3 separate regions of the Homo sapiens genome follow, and regions 2 and 3 are each linked to region 1. The links are contacts of gene promoters, found by promoter capture Hi-C in blood cells and fetal thymus (Javierre and others, 2016). All regions are on one chromosome and are shown on one strand. Each heading gives the region's core, a stretch centred on a gene start or on the middle of the fragment in contact. The rest is flanking DNA. Distances are from core to core; before and after follow the strand shown.

What was found. Contacts are between HindIII fragments. The CHiCAGO score rates a contact against its expected background, and 5 or more counts as called.
Region 2: a contact is called between a fragment that was not itself captured here and the fragment with the promoter of FRZB in region 1, in 1 of 17 cell types (M1 macrophages). The highest score is 5.1, in M1 macrophages.
Region 3: a contact is called between a fragment that was not itself captured here and the fragment with the promoter of FRZB in region 1, in 1 of 17 cell types (M0 macrophages). The highest score is 6.9, in M0 macrophages.

The regions. Positions count from the first base shown.
Region 1 is chr2:182,864,384-182,868,904 of GRCh38, forward strand. FRZB (frizzled related protein) reads right to left here and starts at 2,254. Exons shown (of 6, transcript NM_001463.4): 1 at 1,692-2,254. The coding sequence starts at 2,169. RefSeq lists an enhancer at 1,417-2,385. The HindIII fragment of the contact is 6,424 bases long and covers 1-4,521 here.
Region 2 is chr2:182,227,582-182,232,161 of GRCh38, forward strand. It overlaps PDE1A (phosphodiesterase 1A), which reads right to left. Exons shown (of 15, transcript NM_001363871.4): 5 at 3,434-3,550; 6 at 2,425-2,565. Among named protein-coding and RNA genes, the nearest start is that of PDE1A, 200 kb to the right of the region's middle. The HindIII fragment of the contact is 251 bases long and covers 2,279-2,529 here.
Region 3 is chr2:182,180,748-182,185,533 of GRCh38, forward strand. All of the region lies in intron 13 of PDE1A (phosphodiesterase 1A), which reads right to left. Among named protein-coding and RNA genes, the nearest start is that of PPP1R1C, 200 kb to the left of the region's middle. The HindIII fragment of the contact is 820 bases long and covers 1,997-2,816 here.

The sequences.
Region 1 (4,521 bases), core at 1,004-3,503:
TTCTAAGTGCCTGGCAAACCAGAGCGGCAACTGCACTGAGCACTTCCAGACTCTGCAGTCTGTGACTTTAGTGAGTACGAAGCCTCAAGCATGCTCTTTTAGCAAAGATTAATAGCAAATACATTTCTGTGATGATTTTGCACAACTAGCTTTTGGTTCTTGATTAAAATCAAGAAGACAATAGGTATATTCAAAAAGTGATAAACTAAGTGAGGTCACCATTAAAAAGTTCTTGAAATTCTTCTGTTTATTTTTTTTCCTTCAGCTATTTTTACAATTACTTCTCCTTCTCTCACTTTGTTAAATGAGTCAACGTGCACAGAAGGTAATTTTTCCAAATCAATTTCCCGATAACTAAGAATTACTACCTGGAAATGGACTGGGGACATGCGCCTAGACTGCGCAAGTTGAAAGAGGAAGGAAAGTTGATGCCCAAGAAATAAACAGATGGAGGCAACCAAGTCAACACATCTAAGAACAGAGTTGTTGGGGGGTGGGGGATGTGGTATGAAAGAGGACCACTCATGAAAAAAAATTGCCTTCTTTATAAAATATATGAAGGGTAAAATTTGAGGTTGGGTTAGTTGGTAGAAGTAATACTGAGTTAGAATTAAATGGACCATAATGAAGTAGGTTTAGTTGGGGTCTTAAAGTTACAAATGTCATAATTAGACTAAACACTAGTGAGAAAACAACTTGTGATTGACTCCATTAAATTTAGAGCTGCAATAAAGTTTTATGGTAGGGAAAGACTGAAATGACTGTGGTTGGTGCACACACGGAAAAGGAGCATGAAATAAGGTATTAAAGACAATTTTTTTTTCAAAACATGAGAGTGGAATAAGGGGTGAGATTTAAAATAACATTACGTGAGTGTATGATAACACGCCTTAAATATAACTCCTTTCATCTGTATGCCACTTATAAAATGACTTGAAGGCATGTGGGCATGTGAAAAGAGCTCAGTAATTTCAGTCTGCCAGCTCTATGGCAAGCCACAGAAGCTAATTAACAGTGCATAGCAATGTTTCACAATTGTTTCATTCTGGAATGGAAGAACAATTTATCTCATTGAAAGGAGGGGGAAATTTAAGGTGAAGGTAATTGCTCAAACTGGATCTTGAGCAAACACATACCCCTAACATCTGTCGGTTAGAGTAAGGTTATTGAAATTATCTTGGCATTTTTAATTAGAAGAAAATGGGGCTTCAGTTTTCTGTTTCCTCCACACAATCTTAACAAGCATCTAAGACACTAAAGATACAGAAACCTGATGACTGAGATTGCCTGAGAATCAGCAAAGAAAACCCAATGATTATAAACACATTTTAAAAGAAAAAGAGCATCACTTTACAAAATGTGGCTACTTGCACATGTAAGGAGTTGAAGTGAAGGATTCCTGTGGAGTAGAAGTGTGATGGGTTTGGAATGCATGGATTGTTTTAGAAAGATCGCCTATTGGAACACAGTGCCAGAGTGCATCAGTTTGGAAGGTGATAAGGTGAGGGTTTTTTTGTTTTTGTTTTTGAAAAAAGAAGAAAGAAGAAGAAGGGTCTTTGATAGAGGAGCAGTTATGGGAGAGATTAAGTGATCCGAAGAGAAAAAAATTAGAGAGTAAAGGCTAGTAACAAGGACTCCAAGAATTGAGGAGGCTGTAGGGTAAGGGAAGGGTGGGCCGTGTCAAAACTCACCAGCTCCGTCCGCAGTAACGATGGCCTCGGGAGAGATGCACACGCCCCTGTCGTACACTGGCAGCTCCTCGCAGGCCAGGTTCTCCGGCCACGAGTGGCGGTACTTGATGAGTATGGGCTCACAGCCCTGCCGGGCCCGCTCGCACACAGACTTACAGGGCTTGATGGGCTCGTGCTGGAAGTCAATGGTGCAGATGGGCGCGTACATGGCACAGAGGAAGAAGAGCAGATCGGGGCTGCAGTGGGTGCCCAGCAGACCTTCGAACTGCTCGATGGCCAGGATGGCGTTGGCCTGAGTGCTGTGGTGCAGGTGGTTGGGCATCTTAGTCATGTTCCAGGGCAGGGACTTGCACAGGGGGATGCGGACGGGCTCACAGGCTGCAGCCCGAGCCCCGGGCACCCGGAGCAGGCAGAGAGCAGCCAGGGCAAGCAGCCCGGCCCGCAGCAGCAGCATCCCTCCCGGGCTGCCGCAGACCATGATCCCGGCAGGATGGGGCAGGGTGCAGCCGCGCAGTGGACGCCAAAAGGCCCGCTCCGCCGTCTCCGCCTCCCCCGCTGCAAGTGGACACAAGGATCTGGGAGCTTCTCCTCCCCCGGCAATCACCGCTTCCTTGGATCAAATTCCCCCAATGGGGTCCCACGAGCTTTACCGAGCTCCAGCCACCGCCCCTGCCGCCCAGGCTGCTCTTTCCCAACGTCTAAGCCTTCGGAAGCAGCAACATCTATTTATTCCTCTCCCTCTGGCAGAAGCATCAGACTTCGCAGATCAGTCAGATAAGAGGGACACGAGAGGAGGCGAGGAAGACATAAAAACAAAAGTAGAATTCAGCTGAGAGCTAGTTGGAGCTCTGGGGTGTCTCCTCCCCTAGATCACGCACACAAAAAGATGCTAAAGAAAGCATTAAATTCCCCAAAGTGAGGAGGACAGAGGGGTTGGGGGGAAGGAGGGAGGAAAAGCTCCTAATGGGAGAGAAGGGTGCAGTAAGAGTTTACAAGTCCTGTGTGGGCTAAGAGCTGCGGCCGCCGCTGCGGCTGCGACCCTGGCTGGCAGGAGGGACGCTCAGGAGGAGCCCCGCAGGGACGTCTGTGCCTCTGCCCGGGCGGCTCTGCACTTTCCTACCTCCCGCCTGAGAGGGAGCTCCGCCCCTGGGGCAGTCTCTGCCCTCCAGTGCCGGCTGCTCTTCCCGAGAATGGAGTGGGCGCCCGGGGAAGAGAAGGCCTGGGAGTCGCAGGCGGTGGGGTGCGAAGCCGTGCGAGTGCGAGACCCCAAGACAGCGCCGAGTCGAGCGCGCCCTCACACTAGGGAACCCGTCTTTGGCCCCAGAAACGAGCCCCTAGCCCCTCACTGAAGAGCCCACCCCAATTCCCTACGGAAAAGTCCCCCTAGTTCCCCACTTGGGAACCCACCCGAGACCCTCCTTCCTGGAGGTATTTCCTTTAAGCAAACTACAGCTTTTCCTCTGCAATCACTGGCTCTGCAGAAAGTCAGACCTGGTGGGGGGAAAGGCTTAAGCAATGTCACTTTGTCCAAGTAGCGGAAAACACAGACCCCTGCGAGCAACGGTGGAGCCATATCAACCCAGAGCTAGTGACTACAGAGGTCTCCATTTTCAATAACTGCGGGGGAGGAGGTGGGGGGAGGATTGCCTTTAAAAAAAAAAAAAAAGAGAGAGAGAAACAAAGAAATGCTGTTCATGACTACAAATAGGCCACCAGAAGCAAGGAAAAGGGGTTTTTTCCTTCTATTCCCGCCCCCCCCACCTAGTGGAATTAGAACTCTTGAGCTTTGCTCCTTAAGGGTTAACGTGGAAACTAACAGCTCTAATACACTTGGACTTTTTTTTTCTGATTTTGCTCACGGATAACATGGCAGATATTATTTGTTATTCTCAGCAACAATTCTGCCCGACACTTAAAAAAAAAGTGTAGGAAAACGACATCACGCAGGTAATAATGATGATTATAACAACAATCAAAACCTTTCCATCCAGATGAGTTCAATCTGGAGGAGAAAATGGAAAACAGATCCCCTCCTGGTCTGCTTCTTCCACTAATGAGCTCCCTCTTCCCCCCACCCCCGCCCCACTCTACCCTTTCAGCTTATATTGTAAATGGAATGACCTGCAGAGGCCTTCACACTATGCCCTCTCAATGGGAAATCACTGAGCAAAAGGATTGCCGAATGTCAGAAAACACAGCCTTCATTGAGAGGAGAAGGAAACAAAACCTGAAACAAAACAGGAAGTCACCTTTGCTCTGCATCACTGAAATATTTCTCTGCTTCAATTTAGCCATCTCTCACCGTCCATAACAAGCAGAGAAATATGTCCCCACTTCAGAGCACATAGTGAGATGCTCATTTTCATTCCCTAGAGTGACTTGACAGCACTTATAAAATGTCAATGCTAACTTGAGTTATGGAATTTTATATCTAAAATGATCATAAACAGCAGTTTGTGACTGCTGTAAATTTTTTTGGAAGGAAGTTTGTTCCACTTATGGTGGCGGGGGCGGGGAACACCAGATGGTAGACAGGGAGTCAGTTAGTATACAAACTTTGCCTGGTCTACAATTATCTAGTGTCATGTAAGAGAACAAATTCAAAAATTGTACAAACGAATTTAAAATGATTTATCAAGTAAAATTTAGAGGAAAAACAACTTTAAAAGACAGTCAACATTAGAACATTTTGGGACTATTTTGTATAAGAAAAATATAGCTGAGATTTTCAATAATTAGAAGAAAAAACATCAGGAGTAGATGTAGTAGATTGTTTGCTAAATACATTTTTCTGTTCATCTTAAGTCTTACAGTGTGAGAAGAAATGTGC
Region 2 (4,580 bases), core at 1,154-3,653, 640 kb before region 1:
TTATGTTTTAGGCACTAGGTTAGGTGCCTTGCAAATGTTTTATTTACTCCTCATTGCCATTCTATAAGGTGGCTGGTATTATTAACTGCATTTTAGTGACAAGGGAAGCAATGTAGAGCTAGTGAATTAGAAAGTGGTGGGGCATGGTTTTAAACTCGTGTCTGACTGCTTCCTGAGTCCATGCTCTCTTTCCTCTTCCAAACAGTATCATATTGGAAGCCATTTATAAGAACAGAATTTCCACATAATTTGTAGAAAGATATAGTACTAAATGTTCTGTAGACTGATCAGAGAAAAATGCAGTCATTCCAAAGTGTGGAAGACTGTTTCTGTGTAGTCAGTGCACTAAAAATTCCAAAGGAACTAGATTTACAGTCATCTCTCCTCCTTCTACTCTTAGTATTAGAGAGAACGCAGTGCCAGGAGCCCTCTAATGCAAATGTTTTCTGGCCAAGGCCCTTGTATAATTCCATGTTCAAAGAGACATTTGAAGGTGACTTGACAGCACTTTATAAAACATTTGCTCCTTAGCAAATGGACTGAGTTACTGTGCATCACTGTCACCATGGCACAGGACTACAAATGTATCAAGTGACAAAAGGAGAGAGATAGGGGGACAAGCAGGTGTATGAGCATCAACTCTCCTCGGCATTGTCTACATCCAGACTTGAGGGCGTCCCTTATGACATTAACAAACAGAAGGACAATGGCTTAATTGCAATCCCTTTCAGGAATGGTCCTTAAAACATCTTGCAGATGACAACATGCATTAGTCTCCTGACAGTACTGGGCTGCTACTAGAGTGCTTCATAAATGTCACACTGATAGGGCCACCCTGAAATAGCAGGGCATCAACTAAAACACTAAAGTAGATGGCCCAGTCTTCTTTATATCAAATCTGAGGGGTGAGAAAGAACTAAAGATTTTTTCCTAATGAAAATTTCTATAAAGCTTTTTTGTTTCAAAGAACCAACACATTCATATACATGAAATTTAATAGTCACCTATCACTACTTTTTAATGTAGAGAAAACTTGTTAAAATAACTTTCCAAAAATTGTCAAGCTGACAGTGTAACCTAGTTTAGACAAAATAGTCAATACATTCATAAACTCATGTTGTCTTCCCTTTCTCCATCTATGGTAAAAGTTCTCATTATTCTCTTTAGTTCAAAGGTATTTTCTTGGTTCTGGAAAACACTAAAGGTCTACCACCAGACTATTTTTGTAATGGTTAAATTAATGGATGAGTAAAGAGGCCAGTGACACATTTTTGCTAAAGGATGAATAAAATCAGAAAGTTACATTTATATTTGGTAAGTCATAGCTGTCTCAGAAAGTGACTATGTGATCTTTGCTAACAACTTTAACTTTCTAGGAGTCATGCGAGGCTGGGCCAAATTCCCTAGTCTTACAGAGAAGTTGGAACGGCTTATTTGGTCCCATAACAGTCTTCCTTATAATTCTGAGGGTAAAACCACATTGTGGATTTGATTTTCTCTATTTACCAATTAATATGACACCCACATCTCTTCAATGTCACCTTCACACCAGGTGAAGCTGATATAGTAGACTTTTATTTGGCTCCCTTTACACTTGTAGCAAGTGTAAAAAAAATGCATTCAAGCAGGAATTTTTTTTTAAATGATGAAATTCTGGTTGCCTCCTAGGCTGAAATGGCATTTTCTCACTGCACTTCACGATTAAAGCAGGTGCTAGGATTTAGAAATCTCACATGGCCTGCTCCTTTTTTGAACCCAGCTCAGTTTTGCACCTTCACAGGAAGGTCAGTTCCTCACTTTTTACCTTCTGGGAATCATCCTGAGTTCTAAGACATTACAAAAATTCCCAACTCTCTCAGAGTTCCTGTCATACACTCACTGTTATTTCAGGCTTTGCATCACTGAATCGTTTAGTCACCCATTCACTGATTCATCAAATGCAAAGAAGAGGAAGGAAATTTTGCAAAAATTGACATTAATAATTTCCCCAAATCCCTATTAGAATTTGACTGTGATTAGTAATATGAGTAAGAGAGCAAAAGCGACTAAGGTCAGGTTAGGAGCACATAAGGAATGAGAAAAAGAGTGCTATAACTTTCTTTCTAAAGACTTTTTCTCTAGGTCACTTTTTTTGGTTGACTCCTGCAGAATAAAGGAATTTACAAACAAAAATGTTTGGTAGTCCAAATTTTGGGAAACTTTTTTTTTTTTTGCCTCTGGTTATCTTTTTTGCACTGACTTAAAGTATTTTTTGAAAAATGTGTATTATAACACATTAAGCTTCAAAAATCCAAACAATTATTCTTTATAATACTTATTACTTAGAATACCTCTATGGGCATTAAAGAGACAATAGAAACTTATAGGAATGGAAGTTTGGAATGCTTCCAAACTAACAAACCTCAGTTACAAAGACTGTCTTACCATGATACCTGTATGAAGCATTATGTAATGCACAGTTTGAGTGACATCAGCTGCATGAATCAAATTGTGATATGGATTTTTGTACTTGCTGTAACCAACTTCTAAAGCTTCTGCAAAGGTGATTAGGCAAGAAACAGGAATCTGTGGAAAGTAATAATTATAATTATATTTTGACCAAAAAAGTGGTACTAAATCAACCTGAGCACTGTTTGTCATGGAACATATTAGTGAGTCAGATGTGGACAGTAGTTTCTTTATGTCAAATGTTGATTGTTCTGAAAAACCACTTCATGAACATGTTAACTTTCATTCCCAAAAAGAAAGATTGTAACCCCCAAGTATTTGACTAGGACAGATTAAATAATAGCCTTACTTGTACTATAGGCTTGAAATTTTAGTATCTTCCGGAGAGTAGGAAGGCTAATTCGTAGAAGGGTAAATATTTCCAGTTACAATTAGTGGAGTCTAGTTTTTCTATCTTAATACAAAGAGGTTAAAATAGATTATCTCTCAGTACTTTATAGCTCTAAAAATGTGATGATTCTACAGGAAATGATGAAAGTAATAAGCTACAATCTGCTCAGTAGTCTGTATCAAATCTATTGCTTGGATGGTTCTAAATGAAGTTAATTAGAAACCCCTTCATTCTAATTTAAGAAAAGCTGGCAATAAAGGTTCATTCTGTATTTTAGGAATGCTGGAGTAGTCATATTTCTTTAAGACATAGCTGCCAAACCCTATGTGAGTGTTTTGTGAATAAGTCAGGGGATATTGGCATCTTGCTGGAATGAGGCTATAGTGGCCTCATGATCTCTAGGTGGATATATAGATGTGTCAGTGACTTGTGGAGAATGGTTCTATCATATAAAGACCTCATCACCTTAATTCTGTGACCTGCTAACTAAAACATCCTAAAATGAATTGCTTAATTACTCAAATGTTCTGCATTTTCATTCTTACTCAAATAACCAATTCTAAGAGCATTTCACTTTTGTTCCATGTTTCTGACCTTGAAACGGTTGATAAGATCATATCTGGTAAACAGTTCATAAATCATAAACTTCAGACTATGCTCTCCACTTGCTTCATTTAGGGCAAATACATCGAAAGACCATTTATCAACATCCTGTAGAAAAAAGAATAAATACTTTAGGTGCCAATATCATACTGTTTCTACGAGAATTTATTCAAAAGATAAGGCATTGTACATTTAGCAGGTCATCTTTCAATTTAGCATGTCAAACTACACTTTGACCAGAGTTTCATAGGACAGGACCACTTAGTATCCATGGGTCCACAAAATTGAGGCCATAATGCTTTATAAAGCATCAAAACCTTTTCTTTAATCCCAAAGTTACTAAAGTGATTTAATACATTTGATAATACCATAATACTGCCATTATCTTTAATCTCTCTCCAACTTCCTGCCATAAATCATTTTCTCAGAGTGGACCTCAATTTAGGGTAGAATTGCTAGTTACATAGATGATGTCAATTGGGAAATACAGAAAAAATAGTCCCGGTTTTTCTTTCTTACTCACTTGCTACATTGCTTGAAATTTCACCATAAGAGTTTGCAGTTTGGCTAAAGTTTTGATATTTATGTCCTGTTTTAAGATGTAAATATCGGCCTGGTGTGGTGGCTCATGCCTGTAATCCCAGCACTTTGGGAGGCTGAAATGGGCCAATCACGAGGTCAGGAGTTCGAGGCCAGCCTGACCAACATAGTGAAACCCCATCTCTACAAAAAAATACAAAAATTAGCCAGGTGTGGTGGTGCACGCCTGTAATCCCAGCTAATCAGGAGGCTGAGGCAGGAGAATCGCTTGAACCCAGGAGGCAGAGGTTGCAGTGAGCCAAGATCGCACTACTGCACTCCAGCCTGGGTGACAGAGTGAGACTCCATCTCCAAAAAGAAAGAAAGAAAGATAGAAAAATATGTAAATATCATAGCGAGATAGAGTATACACTATCTTTAATTATTAAAAGGTATTTTTTACACTACTTTTCAACTATTATTATTTGCTCTATCTTTGGCTGATTTACTAATACTTTGCTTGAGGGACAAGTGGTGAGGAAAAGGAAGTGGGCCTTTTGATTGAGGAGGAGGATAGTAATACTCGCATTTCATGCAGTTCCCTAGGGAAGCAAGCAGG
Region 3 (4,786 bases), core at 1,157-3,656, 680 kb before region 1:
ACATAGTCCCACATTTCTCGGAGGTTTTGTTCATTCCTTTTCATTATTTTTTCTCTAATCTTGTCTGCATGCCTTATTTCAGCAAGATGGTCTTCAAATTCTGATATCCTTTCTTCTGCTTGATTTATTCAGCTATTGATACTTGTGTATGCTTCATGAAGTTCTTGTGCTGTGTTTTTCATCTCCATCAGGTCATTTATGTTCCTCTCTAAACTGGTTATTCTAGTTAGCAGCTCCTGTAACCTTTTATCAATGTTCTTAGCTTCTTTGCATTGGGTTAGAACATGCTCCTTTAGCTCAGCAGAGTTTGTTATTACCCACCTTCTGAAGCCTACTTCTGTCAATTAATCTATCTCATTCTCTGTCCAGTCCTGTGTCCTTGCTGGAGAAGTGTTACAATCATTTGGAGGAGAAGAGGCATTCTGGCTTTTGGAATTTTCAGCGTTTTTGCACTGTTTCTTCCTCATCTTCATGGATTTATCTACCTTTGATCTTTGAAGCTGATGACCTTTGGATGAGGTTTTGTAGGAGGTCTTTTTTGTTGATGCTTTTGTTGTTGTTGCTTTCTGTTTGTTACTTTTTCTTCTAACAGTTAGACCCATCTTCTGCAGGTCTGCTGCAGTTTGATGGGGGTCCACTCCAGACCCTGTCACCTAGGTTTCACCAATGGAGTTTGCAGAACATCAAAGATTGCTGTCTGCTCCTTCCTCTGGAAGCTTCAGCTCTCCTGTATGAGGTGTCTATTGATCCCTGTTGGGAGGTCTCTCCCAGTCAAGAGGCGCAAAGTCAGGAACCTGCTTGAGGAGGCAGTCTGTCCCTTAGCAGAACTGGTGCACTCTGCTGGGAGAGTCCCCCTTGTTAGGGTCAGCTGCTCTCTTCAGAGCCAGCAGACAGGAAAGATTAAATCCGCTGACCCTGCGACTGCAGCTGCCTCTCCCTTCAGGTGCTCTGTCCCAGGGAGTTGAGAGTCCTGTCTGTAAGCCCCTGACTGGAGCTGCTGGATTTCCTGCAGAGATGCCCTGCCCAGTGAGGAGGAATCTAGAGAAGCAGTCTGGACACAGCCGCTTTGCTGTGTTGTGGTGAATTTTGCTTAGTCCAAACCTCTCAGTCTCCTTCACACTGTCAGGGGAAAACCGCCTACTAAAGCCCAGCAGTTTGCTTATTTTGTGCAACACTGTGTCCTTCATTCCTGTGGTGATTAGTTAAATTTTAACAGTTTTATACTGTTCCATAATATGTACATACTACAGTATATAAATCAATTTTACTGTTTTTTACACTTTATTTTGCAGTCATGAACAATGCTGCTGTGAATATTTTAGACATGTCTTTGATGCATATGCACAAAAGTCTCTCTGGGGTAAAAATACAGAAGCAAAATTGTCGAGAAGTATGGCACATGCATCTTTAAATTTCCTACAGAATGCCAAATTGTTCCATGAAATGATTATATAATTTTACCTATATACAAATAATGTGTAAGAAAACCAAAAAGCCTGGCATCATTTTTGATTCTTCTCTTCACTTTGTTTCCTACATCTAATCTGGTAACAAATCCTATCAGTTCAGCTTTCAAAATATCTGTATATCCAGAATCCAATCTCTTTTTGCTTACCCTCCTTCTACTCACACATACTGCCACAATCTTTACATATCCAGAAATTATAGACCCTCTCAACCATTACTACTTGGTCTAAGCTCCCATGTGTCTCCTGGGTTATGAACAACAGCCTTCCTTCTGATCTCCTTGTTTCTATTTTTACTACCCAAACAAAAGCACATTTTCCATTCTGTAGCAGAGTAATCCTTTTGAAACCTCAGTTCAGATCAATCAACATTTTTTCTCAAAACTCTACATTTGGTTTCCTGTCTTTCTCGGGCCAAAACCAAAGGTCAGGCACCACATTCCCCACTCATCACATTGCCTACATTATTCCCACTTGTCCAATTTCTTCCTGCTTCACTGCCCTTCTTGTTGTTTCTGGCATGTCAGGCAAGCTTGGCCTCCTAGATAATGTGGTAGCCAATCCGTTTTAAAAATTTGTTAACACCCACCCTCCCAGACCTCTCCATCATTCTCTTTCTAACCTCCATTGTGTATTTATTTAAATTATTTCTTCCTCAGTGAAGGCTTTCCTTACCAGTTTACTATATAGAAATTATCCCCAATTTCCATAGTAATTAGATTTTCTTAATCTGGTAATGTCTTTATTTTTCTTTATTTCTGAATAGTTTTGCTGGATTTAGAATTCAGCATTAGGGACACCCCTAGTTTCTATATAGTAGCCCTATAACCCTTATTTCTAGAACACATGGCAGAAACATAAATAATATAGTAATAACAGCTAACTCATATAGCGCTTAGTACTCTAGACACTTCTAAGCAAATTATATTAATAAACTCATTTAATTCTCTTAAAACCTATGGTGAAGAGGAATACTTCCTGCTATAGTGATGTAAAGAAGTCGAGTTTTTTCTCTTCATGAAAAAGCAAGTGTAAAACTGGACAGCATTAATAAAAACAACTATTCAATGACTCTGGAAATCAACCAAAGGGACATAATAATTTGAGAAACATTTATTCTTAAAAAATTGTTGGACATTCAGGTAAAAACAGCAGGAACCTGTGACCTTCTTGCCTGAAGTTACTCCCACTCCTCCATCTTCCTCTCCAACTCTGACCTGGGAATGGAAGCAAAAGCCAACTTTCCTGTTGGATGTGGTAGAATCAACTTGGAATGGGAAGGCAGCAAATAATTCTGGTTACTTGAATATAAAATGGTGAATCCACTTAGACTAGATGAGGAGAGCCCCAAGCTTTGTCAGCCTAGGGTTGGGGTCCAAGTTGGGGTAAAGGGTAAACCAGCAGGATTTAACAGAAAAACCCTAGAAATTAGAGAGCCATAGAAAGGCCATTTATAGTCAGTTTTAAAATTGATTTCAAAAAATTCAAGACAAGTTTTTTAAATATGTTTTTAAAATTAAAGAAAATAATCTTGAAGAATTAAAGGAAAATATGCTAACAATGAATGAAAATATAAAATATCAACAGAGAAATAGACATTATAAAAAAGAACCAAATGGAAATAATAAAATTGAAAAAAGTAGCTGAGATAAAAAGTTAATTCAGTGAAATCAACAGCAGGATTGAGGTGGCAGAGAAAGAAACAGTAAACTTGAAGATAAATCATTAGAAAGCAGCCAATCAAAAATGAATGAAGAAGGAAGGAAGGAACAAAAGAAGGAAGGAAAGGAAGAGAAGAAAGAAAGAAAGAAAGAAAGAAAGAAAGAAAGAAAGAAAGAAAGAACAATTAAAGAAATTGACAGAGATCCAGAGCATCCAGGACAATTTCCAGAATCCTAAGTTATGCATAACACAATCCTCAGAAGGAGAGAACAGAGAGAAAGAGGCAGAAGAAAAATATTGAACAAAATGACAGAAAGCTTTCTAAATTTGAAGCAAATTATTAATTTGTGGATTTAAGAAGCTAGTGAACACTAAGTAGAATACTGAAAAAAAAAAAGACCTAGATATATCATCATCAAATTGCTGAAAGTCAAAATAAAGTCTAGAAAACAGAAAGAAAAAGATAATACTCAGTACATACAAGGAAGCAACAATACAATTTATTTTTGGCCAACACTATCAGAAACTATGGAAGCCAGAGGCAATAGAATTACACATTAAAAGTGCTAAAATAAAAAAAAATCATTCAACAATTCTAAATCAAGTAAAATTATTCATAAATAAAAGTAAGATACAGACATTCCCAGATAAAGAAAATCTAATTGTTTGTCAGTATAACTGTGTTATAAGAAAATACTTGAGAAAGTACTCCAGTGTGAAGAGAAATGATACCAAATAGTAGCTCTGACACACAAGAAGAAATGAAGAATATCATAAGGGTAAATATGTGAGAACATACAAAAGATTGCATATACGAATGTGTGTGTCTGCCATCTGTCAAGTTCTGCAGGAATTAATGTGCTATTTTTGGCTCTCTGGTCTATTCCCAAGGCCCATCTTATTATCTCTATATCACAGCCACACTAAATTTATTACTTCAGTATAAGAGTAAATTTTGATATATGGCAAGTGCTCCCACTTTATTATCCTTCAGGAGTGTCTTGAGTATTCTTAGGTATTTGCAATACCATATAGATTTTAGGATCAATTTCTTAAATTCCATGAAAAATGTATTGGAATTTTCACTGGAAACATGTTATATTTATGGTTGACATTTGGGATAATTGAAAACGTTTCAATATTGTGTCTTTCTGACTATAAATATGATTTAACACTCTATTTTGATCTTATATTATCCATTTTAAGAAAAGTAAGTTTATTCCTGAGTATATTAAAGCTGCAAAAAACACAAGGAAAAAATTTCTGGCTGAAAAAATAACTACAAAGACCCTGGAGTATTTTAAGAAACTTCCAAGAGGCCATTGTGCAGGGAGTGTAGTGTATAAGGGAGACAGAGCTGTGGGAATGAGTGTGAGAAGAGGCAGGGGCCAGATCTGGATATGAAAGCTAATTCCTGCACGAAAGATAATAACTGTTTGAATACTAACTCACAAACCTACTAAATGGACTAATTAATTTGAAGCAGCTAATATGTCAGAAATAACTGTAGCTACCTTCCCATGCGATTGCTGTGGTGGTTGATTACTAATGATTTCCCCAATTCCTGTCTAAATTCTGAGTCAAAAAAGCAACTTAGTGAAACAGAAAAAAAACACACCCAAGTCTCTGACATGAAGTGATAACACACTTAATGCAAC